Linked DNA regions of Homo sapiens: region 2 is linked to region 1. The links are contacts of gene promoters, found by promoter capture Hi-C in blood cells and fetal thymus (Javierre and others, 2016). All regions are on one chromosome and are shown on one strand. Each heading gives the region's core, a stretch centred on a gene start or on the middle of the fragment in contact. The rest is flanking DNA. Distances are from core to core; before and after follow the strand shown. Region 1 overlaps LOC105372932 (a long non-coding RNA gene). Region 2 holds the start of LINC01352 (long intergenic non-protein coding RNA 1352).

Evidence for each region. Contacts are between HindIII fragments. The CHiCAGO score rates a contact against its expected background, and 5 or more counts as called.
Region 2: the fragment with the promoter of LINC01352 here is called in contact with a fragment that was not itself captured in region 1 in 6 of 17 cell types (neutrophils, M0 macrophages, monocytes and 3 more); the score reaches 10.6 in neutrophils.

Annotation. Positions count from the first base shown.
Region 1 is chr1:221,391,559-221,397,773 of GRCh38, forward strand. The region is part of intron 3 of LOC105372932 (a long non-coding RNA gene); the gene reads left to right. Among named protein-coding and RNA genes, the nearest start is that of LINC02817, 58 kb to the left of the region's middle. The HindIII fragment of the contact is 1,219 bases long and covers 2,217-3,435 here.
Region 2 is chr1:220,827,878-220,834,190 of GRCh38, forward strand. It overlaps LINC01352 (long intergenic non-protein coding RNA 1352), which reads left to right and starts at 1,378. Exons shown (of 4, transcript NR_110797.1): 1 at 1,378-1,565; 2 at 2,816-3,030; 3 at 3,265-3,506; 4 at 4,236-4,552. It overlaps HLX-AS1 (HLX antisense RNA 1), which reads right to left. Exons shown (of 3, transcript NR_046901.1): 2 at 5,141-5,315; 3 at 4,886-4,981. The HindIII fragment of the contact is 6,544 bases long and covers 1-2,986 here.

The DNA of each region.
Region 1 (6,215 bases), core at 1,576-4,075:
AAGATACAGAGGAAATTGTCCATTTTTATGCTTAGGTTCAACAAAATTCCGCAGACAGCTATGTAGAAATATGAATGGAAAAAAAGGGTATGATGTAATGCTAATAGATGGACTGAGGAAACCCAGCAAGGCCTGTCTAGATTCTGCTTGGCCTCTCTGAGCATGCATTCCTTCCTTCTGGATATAGGGCAGAAGCCTCTCTGGAATGAGGATCTTATGACCTACAGTCAAAAATGTTAGCCCAGGTAATTTCTTTATGGTCAATTTTTACGCAGAAAGATAGAGGGAAAGTTAGAGCAATATTTTTAGGTTTTATGGCTGGCTTTGTGGAAAAGAGGTTCTGGTTTCTATGACCTGCCTTAGAGAAGAGGGCTTCTAGTTTCTAAAGAATTCTCTAGTTTCTACAGATTCTCACCTTGGGAGAGAATGGGACTGAGAGTTAGGGGGGCAGGAGAAGGTCAGAGAAAAACTTTTGCTTCTGAGGCTTTCATTTTGGGGTATTATTTTTGGAGCCCCAGCAACTTCCTTCATATATTTATGCAGATTGCTGTTGTCTAAAATGGTAAACTTTTAGAAGATGGGCACTGTCTTTATTGGTGTATTAGCATCTCTGCACTTTGAGTTAGAACAGTGATACTAAGCCCTAATTTTTCATTCTCCAGGTGATATTTTTTAGTGACATCCACTTTTTCTTCTTTGATAGTTCTAACTCCTTGACTAATTCTCAAAATAAATTCTTTTCAATTAACCATAATTTACAAATACTATGTGCAGAGAGTATTTCTAAGGTTATTTGGAAGCAGCAATATAAACATTTGTCATAACTCCTCCCAAATTGGAAATGGATCTATGAGAGGATAACAGCTAATAGTGTTACTATTCATATGTATAAAAGTGACTTAATTGATGAGGGTGAGGAGCAGGGCAGGTTAAATCTTTCCTTTTATGAATACTGTTGTTTCCTGATATGCCTAGTTTCAAGAAGTTGGGCAAGCTAGAAGTTGGATTATGACTTCATCACCTATGACTCACATGGAATGCACAATTTTGATCCAAAACTTTTGTTCTAATAAGATTTCAACTTCCAAACATTGGTAGCAATGAGAGCCAAGAGCAGGAATGTGACAGTGTGCCAGGTTGATCACAGTGTTTAGGGTTTTGTTTTTTTTTTTTTTGTGAAATGAAGTCTCACTCCATTGCCCAGGCTGGAGTGGAGTTGTGCAATCTCGTCTCACTGCAACCTCCACCTCCTGGGTTCAAGAGATTCTCCTGCCTCAGCCTCTTGAGTAGCTGGGACTACAGGCACGTGCCACCACACCCAGCTAATTTTTTGTATTTTTAGTAGAGAAGGAGTTTCACTGTGTTAGCCAGGATGGTCTCAATCTCCTGACCTCGTGATCCATCCGCCTCGGCCTTCCAAAATGTTGGGATTACAGGCATGAGCCACTGCACCTGGCCTATGCTTTCTTTTTAACAAAAGTTGTTTTCAACAAAATTTGACTTTGCTCAAGAATGGCACTAGTTTTTAGAAAAATTTTGGAGTGGTGAAGTCAAGGAATTTTCAACTGAAGTAGATCATGTGCTCATTGACAGCAGCAAAATGGCATCCGTGGGGGATCCTAACATAGAGGCACCATTTCTCCACTCAGGGAAAGGATTAGGCATAGAAATGCAAACATCAAGCTTTGCTTGGTACACTATTATTTCCTTGCTGAACTCCAGATGATAAGGTAACCAACTGGCCCTGAAATCGTAAGTGGGTGAATTCAACTATCAGATGCTTTACTGTGATAAAAGTGTCAATAATATCTCAGACTTAGGCAGTGCTTTGTAGTCTACAGAGAACTTTCATCTACTTTCTCTCACTGGATCTTATCACTTGATTCCTTATGATAGGCAAAGTTAATATGCATATTATCAAGTCCAGGTCTAGCTCAGTCCTTGCTGCATACATTATTCGTGCTTAACTACTTATAGAATTGAAGTTGTTGAATCTACGGTTTCAGATAAGAAAAGAATGTTTAATGATTTCTGCAAACTCAGCCATACCAGGTGAAACTGCTAAGACTTAAAGCCATCTTTTATGCCTTGTGTCCTCTGATGTTGCCATTGGCGCTTGTAAGAACACTTCTTTTCCCCAAGTCACTGTTGATACCAAAGAAAGCTATTATCCCCACATCTATCCCTGGTGCCACTGAGCGGTAAGGATTTGAACAAGCTTGAGAATAGTGTTTAAAGTAATTAGTTCCATATTAAAAAGAAAAAGAAGAGAGAGTAGGAAGGAGCAGTAAGCAGAAAGATGATTAAGGCTTTGGGTGTGGATCAGAATGGTATTTAAAATAAATACAACAAAAGTTATCCAATAATCAGTAAACAGTAATATAATTAGAATTTTTTTTTCCTATTTACTTCCTTTAACATGCAATGGGGGGAAATGGTAACAAAAAAAAAAGTCAAGGACTCAATCAAACAGATGGTTCTCAAGTTATTATTTTCTCCTTACTGTTGTTTACAAGAAAAAACTCCTTTAACAAACCGTGACTCACAGATTCCAGTGGGACCAGAAATTCTCTATGTGAAGGAGAGGAAAATAGTGGGAAGAGAACCCGCATCATAAACTTTTATTATGCACATTATTATGCCTCATTAATTAACCCAACCACTGTCCTAGTGACGTCTTGGGCTCACTTCACAGGAAAAAATTAGTCTGGATTGCCAAGTTAAATAGACAATTACAGGAAGATCAAATTATGCCTACATTGCATTCTGTCAGGGCATCAAGCCAAATTCATGTCAAACTCATAAGACTGGAATATCCTTAAAAAAACAGCCCTGAAGAACCAATGTCACAAGCCATTTGACGTCCACACGGAGGATGTATTGATCTTGCCTGAGCTTCCTTTCTCAGAATCGCATAACAGACCAAGAAAGAGGGCTTTCTGAGCATCTTACTCTCTTCCACACAGCAGCTGGCTAGATCCTTTGTTATGTACAATAAAGCACAATGAAACAGGGAAAAACATCCCACCTCATGAGCTCCATCCCTCATCCTGGCTGGCAGCTGTCACAGATCTGAAGAAACAGCTTAGACATTTAAAGAGAACAATGAAAATCCCCAGTGTAGGTTTTCCACAGTGGAACCCTTGGTTCTGTCCATGATCTTGAGGAACACTTTTCCAAAAAATCTGAGCTGAGGCCAAAATGAATAAAGCTCACCCCAGATTTTCAGAACCCACAGTGGAATGCCTGATGTCCCCAGCACCAGAGACAACACGATACTGGAGAGAATAAGAACAATTGCCACAATGCTTTCAGGTAAGGTGATGTTTGCTGGTGGTTCAGGACTCAAAAAGAGAATTGAATGTGTCTTGTATCTACTGAGGAATGAAAGTTTAAGAATTTAAGTGTGGAAGACTGGATGCAACTTGGAAAGAAAGCTTCTTCCTGATTCCCATTCTGGGACATTCCTCCTTTATAATCAGAAGTGTCTACCTGAAGCCTTTTTCCATGTTACTTCCATTTTATGAAGAACCCCCGCTCCCTCAAGTGGTAGAATCTATTTGCTCCCCTCTTGTGGTTTTCTATGAAACAAGAATTATGTTTTAAGAATCCTGAGCTCAAACCTAAAGAAGACTAGCAGGTTACATGTTATATCTCTGAAAAATCAGCTGACATATAAGTTCCGCTCCCTTGGAATCACCATATTGTGAGGAAGCACAAGCTAGCTGAAGGAAGCACCACATGGAGGAGAACCAAAGAAGTCAGAGAATAATGAGAACTTACCCATATGGCTTCTGTTAAATTGTCCCAGCCAGCTGTTACTGGTCAGCCATCCTAGCTCATGCCTGGAAATTGCGGAGTAGAGATGAGCTATCCCCACTGTGCTCTGTCTGAATTGTAAGCAAATAAATGGCTGTTGTTTTCTGGTGGCAAGTGTGGAGAGATATTTTTCCATGCAGATGACTAGAATACCCTCCAAATCTGGCATGGATGCTTCTCCTGTGATCTTTGTGCCATTGCGGACCTCCAGCATGTTACTATCCTGCTGCAATATCCAAAACAAAGATGTCTTTCTCTGGCCTTCTCCCTTGCCCCAATTTTGTCCTCTTTAAGGATGTGGAAACTTATTATCTTAATAGTCGTCACAATTTCTCTTAGGGAGGGAATTCTCTTCATTTGTAAATATAAGTTTCTGAGCCCCTGGGGATTGAATGCTCTGTGGGCAATAGTCAAGGCTTCCAAGAAAAATGGCTAAACTTGTCTGCCTAGGAAAGGAAGTGTTTTGGAATGTAATGAGAGAGAGAGGGACAGAGAGACAGAGAGACAGAGAGAGACAGAGAGAAAGGGAAGAGAGAGAGCTCTGAAGAGGCCCCGGGAGGCAGAAGATCTCCCCTGTGTAGGGAGGCAACCAATGGACAGTTCCCTATGACCCATGAGAGAAACTAAGGCACATATTGAAATGAAAATGACTACTGTAAAATTTGAATTTGCCTGGTGTTTTGACATGCTATATCCCTTCCTCCTTGTCCATCTCTTCCCCATAAAACCACCATATCTTACCACACTCATACCAAAAGCATGGGCAACAAAAGAAAACATACATAGGAGAGGTGGAGTAAGATGGTAGAATACAAAGCTCCACTGATTGCTTTCCCTCCCCACATCCCCACCAAAGACACCAAGTTAACAACTATCTACACAGAAAAAAACACCTTCATACAAACCAAAAATCAGGTGAACACTCACAGTACCTGGTTATGACTTCGTATCACTGAAAGAGGTGCTGAATAAATAGAAAATACACTCCTGAATGGCTGATGCCACCCCTACCCCACCCTGGCAGCAGAGGTGTGATGCAGAGAGCTTCTCTAGGTGCTGGGAGAGGGAGAACACAGCAGTTGTGAGGCACTAAACTCATACTGTCCTGTTAGAGGAGAAAGAAAAACAGCTGATCAAATTCACCAAACTCAGCGGATGCCCACCCACGAAGGGAGCATTTAAAGGAGCCCTAGGATGAAGGGAATCACTGATCCCAGCAGTTCAAACTTGAGTACCTTCAAACCTCACCATCAAGGGCTACAGCACTCTGTGTCTTCAAGTAAACTTGAAAGGCAGTCTAGGCCACAAGGGCCACCAATCTTAGATGACTCATAGTGCTGAACCAGGCCTACAGACAGTGGACTGGAGTGGGGGCACACAACATACTGAGAGGCCAGCTGGGGCAGCCAAGGGAGTGCTGGTATCATCCATCCCATAACCCCAGGTGGCACAGCTGGAGGCTCCAAAAAAGACCCACTCCTTCTGCTTGAGGAGAGGAGAGGGAAGAGTGGGGAGGACTTTGTTTTGCATCTAGAATACCAATTCAGCCACAGTAGCATAGAGCACTGGTCAGAGTTGTGAGGCTTCTTTTCCAGGCCCTAGATCCCAGGTGACATTTCTAGAGACACCCTGGGCCAGAAGGAAACCCGCTGCCTTGAAGGAAAAGACCCAGTCCTGGCAGCATTTATCATCTGCTGACTGAAGAGCCCTTGGGCCCTGAATAAGAAGAAGTGATACTCAGGTACTACGTCGAGAGCCTTGAGTGAGCCTCTGAGACTTGCTGGCTTTAGGTGAGACTCAGCACATTCCAAGCTGTGGTGGCTATGGGGAAAAATTCCTTTGGCTTGAGAAAAGCAGGCGGGAAAGTAAAGGGGACTTTGTCTTGCACCTTAGGTACCAGCATAGCCACAGAGCAGTAGAGCACCAAATGGGCTCTTGGAGTCCCTGATTCCAGGACTTAACTCTTAGATGGCATTTCTGGTCCTGCCCTGGGCCAGAGGGAAGTCCACTGACCTGAAGGGTGAGTCACAGGCCAGGTAGCATTCATGACAAGCTGATTTAAGAAACCTTGGGTCTTAAGGGAACATCAACAGTAGTCTGGCAGAACTCCTCGTGGCCTGGGCTGGCAGTGGCTGTGGGGTGAGGCTCTTCTGCCTTTGAAGGGAAGGGAAGAGTGGGAAGGACTGTGTCTTGTGGTTTGGTGCCAGCTCAGTTGCAATAAAATAAAACACCAGGTAAACTTCTAAGGTTTTTGACTCTAGTTTCTGACGCCCAGACAGTACTTCTGGACCCACTCGGAGGCGAGTGGGGGGACCTTGCTGCCCTGAAGGGAAGGACACAGGCCTGGCTGACTTTGACACCTGCCAATTGTAGAGCCCCAGGGCCTTGAGTGAATT
Region 2 (6,313 bases), core at 128-2,627, 570 kb before region 1:
CCCCTGAGGTTGATCTCTTCTTCTGGGGACAACAGCCTGCAGGGTGATTTTGAAAAGCAGGCTCTGACTTCTACTTCCTTGTCCTGTACTCACCCCACCTGGTGTAATTCACCGTAATGCAGTGAACTTCCACATGGCTGCTGGGCATGCTTCCCAAAGCCAGCCCCTGGGCAGGGTTTCCCTTAATTTAGACCCCTGTCCCTACCTCTCCAAGTGCAAAGTGTACAAGGCTACACGCCCAGCTGCCCCCCACCCCCATACACACACTGGAGAGACCAAATGTTTGAGATCACTGTTGGGTAGCTGGGTCAAGAGAGCTTCATAACAATGTTGTTGGCATGTGGAGAGCTTTTCTTTTTCTTGGATCCCAACTGGAAATTATCAGCTTCGCCCCATGCTGACATGCGAATGTCCAGGCCTGCCTTTCTGCTGCAGGGCAATGCTCCAGGTTACAACATCGACACCAAGCAGTTTGTTGAGAAAACTTTGGACCTCATGAGCTGGGCAAGAGCGGCCTGGCAGGTGGTAGGAGAGCAGCCTGTCCATGCCTCAGCTGTGGCTCCACTGGCTCTGTGACTGTGCAGATTTTCTAACTTTTGAAGACCTCTGTTTGGATATCCATAAAATAGGTAAGATGGTGCTAATACCTACCTGTGATGTTGTGAAGATTTAATAGCATAATACTTAAAAGCACTTTGCATACATTAGCAAAGTGCCTAAATATTAGTTATTTGGCGGAGGCTATTAACCAGTGTGCTATGAGGTGCAAAGTAAGTTGTTACCAATAACTCAAAGAACTCCAGTTTGCAAATGTTTTACTTTTACTTAAGAGAATCTTTGCGGGAGAATTAAAACCAATTAATTCCCACCACTGGCCAAGAGCTCATGCTGTAATTATCCAAGACAGAATAGCTCAACAGAAAACCAAGTCATGCAATTCTGAGCACTTGTCCTTGGGATGCCACTTTGGGGCTCCCATATCTGAAATCATTTTGTTCTCAGTCCACCTGTGTGACATTTCTGTCCTGCTCAGCCACGGGTTCACAATAATCAAGGGAATGACCCAAGGGATTCACTTCTTCCAAGCAGCCGATGCCTTTGGAAGTTATGTTGACATTGCTTGTTTAAACCTAGGGCAAGAAATCCTTTCTCTGCCAGACCTGACTCTTCAGGCACACTCCTCAGTTTGGAGACGTGACTTGCCATGTAGTACTGAGAGGGAAAACAGGCCAGAAACAGCCTTGTTGAAAACTTCTTTTCTGCTTAGCTGCCCTCTGAACAGTCACCATAAAGATTGTGAGGTGCTGGAGCCAGGGATGACCTCATAAAGCCCTTTGCTAAATACTTAGTGAGCTGGTACTGTGGGCCAGGCACTGTGCTCATCATGAACAAAACCAAGGCAGACAACACTGTCATTAATGGAGCTTATCATGTAATACGGAAGCCTGGGATAAGCAACAAATTACACAAGTGACAAATGTGATGAGTGCTGTGAAGCAGAGTGCGGGGTGCCCAGGGAATCAGCAGAGCCCTGGAGGATAACAGCCTGAGCTCCAGGAAGGAAGGTTGTGGTGGTGCTTAGGGTCAGAGTGGGGACAAGCATTCCAAGCAAAGGGAAAAGCACATACACATGCTATATTAGTCAGGTTTCTCTAGAGGGACAGAACTAACAGGATAGATGTATAAATGAGGGGGAGCTTATTAAGTAGTATTGACTTGCATGAGCACAAGGTGAAGTCCCACAATAGGCTGTCTGCAAGCCGAAGAGCAGGGAAGCCAGTCCGAGTCCCCAAACCTCAAAAGTAGGGAAGCTGACAGTGCAGCCTTCTGAAGGCCCCAGAGCCCCCGGCAAACTGCTGGTGTAAATCCAAGAGTCCAAAAGCTGAAGAACTTGGAGTCTGTTGTTCGAGGGCAGGAAGTATCCAGCACGAGAGAATGATGAAGGCTGGAAGACTCAGCAAGTCTACTCCTTCCATGTTCCTCTGTGTGCTTTTATTCTGGCTGTGCTGGCAGCTGATTAGATGGTGCCCGCCCAGATTGAGGGTGGGTCTGCCTCTCCCAGTCCACTGACTCAAAAGTTAATATCTTTGGCAACACCCTCACAGACACATCCAGGAACAATAGTTTGCATCCTTCAATCTAATCAAGTTGACACCTAATATTAACCATCATACATCCCCTCCATGGGAAGGAGCATGATGCCTTATATAGTCTACTACCCTCAAACCAATCCTACTCCCTCATCCCCAACACCTTCTTCCCCTGGAACTCTAGATAGAGTTTCTTGACTAGACACATAAGCACAATTAGGCTATGCCTAATTATGAAGCCATCCCGGTTTATACATTTTCTTGTTATACTTGCCTATTTACAAGTTTTTCTTGTGAAAACTTGCCTATTCTTTTTGCTGCCTCCTCTCCACCCTAAAAGAGAAACTCTAAGGAAACACTCCCAGAGTTTATTATAGTTATTATGACTCAGATTTGAAGACTAGAATTTAATGGAGGTTTTCCTAACATTCCTTGGGGACTTGAAGGACTTTTTTTCCCACCAGCCACAGAAGTAAGATTATAAAACATTTATTTATTAAAAGAAAAGAAATCTTCTGGGCTCAAAGTTCTAGTTATTCTAAAAGCAGAGCACTTGTTCCATGTTTTCATATCGCCTCCCCACACCTACCTCTCCTCTCCCATTCTCTATTTCTTTATTTCTGTGCTGTAGTAATAAGCAAAACAGAGAAGCAATTGGTTTTAGTCTTGGATCTTGACCTTGCTGTGTGGCCTTGGCCAAGTCACTTCCCCTTTCTCAGCCTCAGTTTCTTCAAGTGTAAAATGAGAGATTGGATGGATCAGAAGATTCAGGCCTCCTTGAAAATCCCCATGGGTGAACCCCAACACACAGGCTATTCAGCCAGCAGCCCCAAGTCCTTTATGAAAAGCCAAGGTTGATTGAAACTCTCCCTTCTCAGGAGAGAAACTAGAGGCAAAGCTTCCTCATCAGCAGAGATAAACTTGGCAGGAGCCAATTCAGGTACCAGTAAAGGATATCTTCTTCTGCAGGCCAGCCTCCCTCTCTCCAGCTTGGTTCAATCCTGCATTCATTGACACTGCACTTCTATAAGCCCTTAGAACTCTGGGAATTCTCTCCTAGTTTTCCTAGGTATGCTTGCTGTTTCTACATGGGTTTCCTGTGAATGACCAGACCAATAATCAAATGCCTCCAGGACCCATAACACAAATGAGAAGAGTTCTCTCATTATGACAGGTAGGACCATGGCCAACTCAGGGCTCGTGCTTGATCGAAGGGGATCTGTGTTAGTCAGCATTCTCCAGAGAAATGGAACCCATTGGATAGATATGTAAAGAGATTTATTATGGGAGTTGGCTCATGCAATTGTGGAGTCCTAGAAGACCCACCACCTCCTGTCTGCAAGCTGGAGAAACAGCAAAGCCAGTGACGTAATTAAGTCTGAATCCAAAGGCATAAGATCAAGGAGAACTGATGGTGTAAGTCCCAAAGTCCAAAGGCTTGAGAACCAGGAGCTCTGATATCTAAGGGAAGATGTCCCAGCTCCGGAAGACAGAATTCACCCTTCCTCTGCCTTTTGTTTTATTTGAGCCCTCAATGGGCTGGATGATGCCTATTCACATTGGTGAGGGTGGATCTTCTTTACTCAGTCTACTGATTAACACCTGTTCCAGAAACGCCCTCACAGGCACACCCAGAGATATTGTTTTCCCAGCTATCTGGGCACCCCTTAGCCCAGTCAAATCAACACATAAAATTAATCATCATAGGCTCTAAGTTCTACTTAGCTCCAACCAGTTGGAGTCATTTTGGAATAAGTGTAAAGTGTTTTCAGATATTCTGATCTTACAAGTGAAGCTGGAAATTAGCATTTTTAAGTAAAGATGACTCAATTAAGAAAAAACAAAAACAAAAACCATGGCACGAGCAGAAGACGGTGCATCAGATTCAGGCCTGTGGTTGCTGGTTGGTTACCTGTGGGTGTAAGCAAAGTACTGGGTCCTTTCCCATTCTAGACTATATTTACAAAATCAGTAATGCTTAGCTATGCATTCTTTCATTTAACAATTATTTGTCAACTACCATGAGCTGGTATTATGTAGAATGCTGGTAAAATAGATAACTAAGACCCAACACATGTGTAAATGAGAATGAGTGTGATATAATCAATGTCTCCTGGGCTAGGTGTCTCTTTTTTGCTTCCACAGCACCTGTGTATACTTCCATTATGGCATGTAACATGCTGGCAAGAAATTGATTCATTGGGTTGTGTCTTCTCAGCTGCCTGAAGAATGAAATCATATACTCTAGTTTCATATGCCCAGCATTGTACACAACTTGACACATCACAGCAGCTCTAGGAAAGCACATAGGCTGACAACTGAGTGAACAACCCACTGACTGTGTGTCGTTCAGGGTTGGGAAAGCAAGGGCAGGTCTCTGTGCCCCATCTCTAGCTTTTCCTCAACTTAGGCTTTATAAACCCTTGCATCAAAAAATAAAAGCTAAGGCTAATTGTTTCAAATTAGGCTATCTTATTTCTACCCAGTAACTTCCCCACCACCAAGAAAGGAGTAATTTAAAGGAGCAAACTGTAGAAATAAATAGGAATAAAAGCATTACCTCTGAAAGCCAAGGCCATTAATTCATTAAAAAAAAAAAAAAAATCAAAGCCCGGGCGTGGTGGCTCATGCCTGTAATCCCAGCACTTTGGGAGGCTGAGGTGGGTGTATCACCTGAGGTTAAGAGTTTAGACCAGCCTGGCCAATGTGGTGAAACCCCATCTCTACTAAAAATACAAAAAAGTTAGCCAGGCGTGGTGGCAGGTGCCTGTAATCCCAGCTACTCGGGAGGCTGAGGCAGGAGAATCGCTTGAACCTGGGAGGCAGAGGTTGCAGTATGTCGAGATCACACTATTTACATTCCAGCCTGGGCAACGAGAGCAAAACTCCATCTAAAAAAAAAAAATCAAGATGAATAACATACTCTTATGTAACAGGTGAAAGTCTTAAAGGACTTAAAGGAAAGTCTTAAAGTAAAGTCTTAAAGGACTTCACTTCATGTGTGAATTCTCAGTGTAATGGAAAATCCATTGGTTTAGGAATCAGATCACCTGGCTTTTAGTCCACTTCTGCAACTGTGAGATCTCAAGTAACCTACTGACTCCATCTGGGCCTCAGTTTCCTTCACTGTAAAGTGAGAGGTAATTGGAGGATCTCCAGAGTTACTTCTGGGTCTCATAGACTGTGCTTCCTGGCAACCAGTTGCCTCTTCTGAGACCACCTGGCCTGGTAGGAAGAAAAACACAAAGAAATATATGAGTAAACATAATCATGCCTCCTTCTGCAACAGTAGCCATAACTCTGCTCTCCACAGGACAAAGGAATGAGTAATAGTGCAGTTGAAATCTCATCTACTTCCCTCTTCTTCAAGAACCAAGGGGCTGCTCCAAACATCTTGAAATGCAACATAAAACACAAACAGACCACACCAGAGACCAGATCCAGGTTTTAACAGCACTTTGATGCTTGGCAGATTTCTCTGGATTTGTTTTTTAGGCTGACACACAGCGCCTCTCCGTTCACCCTGCAGCATTCTCTAACTGGGACTTCAGAAACCCATTAGGAAAAGGAGTGCAGGGTGTGGAGTAAGGGAAGGTTTGGATGAAAGGCTAGGAAATGCTCCCTCAGGGGAAGGGAAATCTGGCACCATCAATAACTTTAAGTCTATAAAATTATTTTCTTCTGGGACTAAAAGCTCACATGATACACTATATTTATCACTCACTGAATCTCATTGTCTTATTCAAAATTTCCACTTCCTACAGTTAACTTCTTTTGGCCCATGACCTGTCACATTTCTTTTATGGCTAGTATATTGAATTTCAACTATCAGCAGTCATTTATTAAAAACAAAACACATCCACAGAAAACCAGGCAGACACAGCTTGATTAATAACAAGTCGGTGCTTTCCTCTCATACTTCTTTCAGGTTAGAGAAGTTGGAAAACTGCTAATGAGTCTTCTGTACCTTTTAAAGAAATGTCTTAGAGTAATCTTACAATTAGGAGTTTCCTATGTCAGGTAGAAATTAAATGCTTTGAAAGCTTCCAGTTTCAAAAAAGGTGGTGAGCTAGCACAGGATATTGGCTTCCTCCCAAAGCCCAATCTTGAAGTGAGAGGAAGTTGCCAGATCCTGAAAATGAAGAGAAAAGCTGTAGAGATTTTCATGGTGAGGGTGGGAGACATGGTAAGGGTGAGACTGGGGGAGGGCAAAATGTCACAGA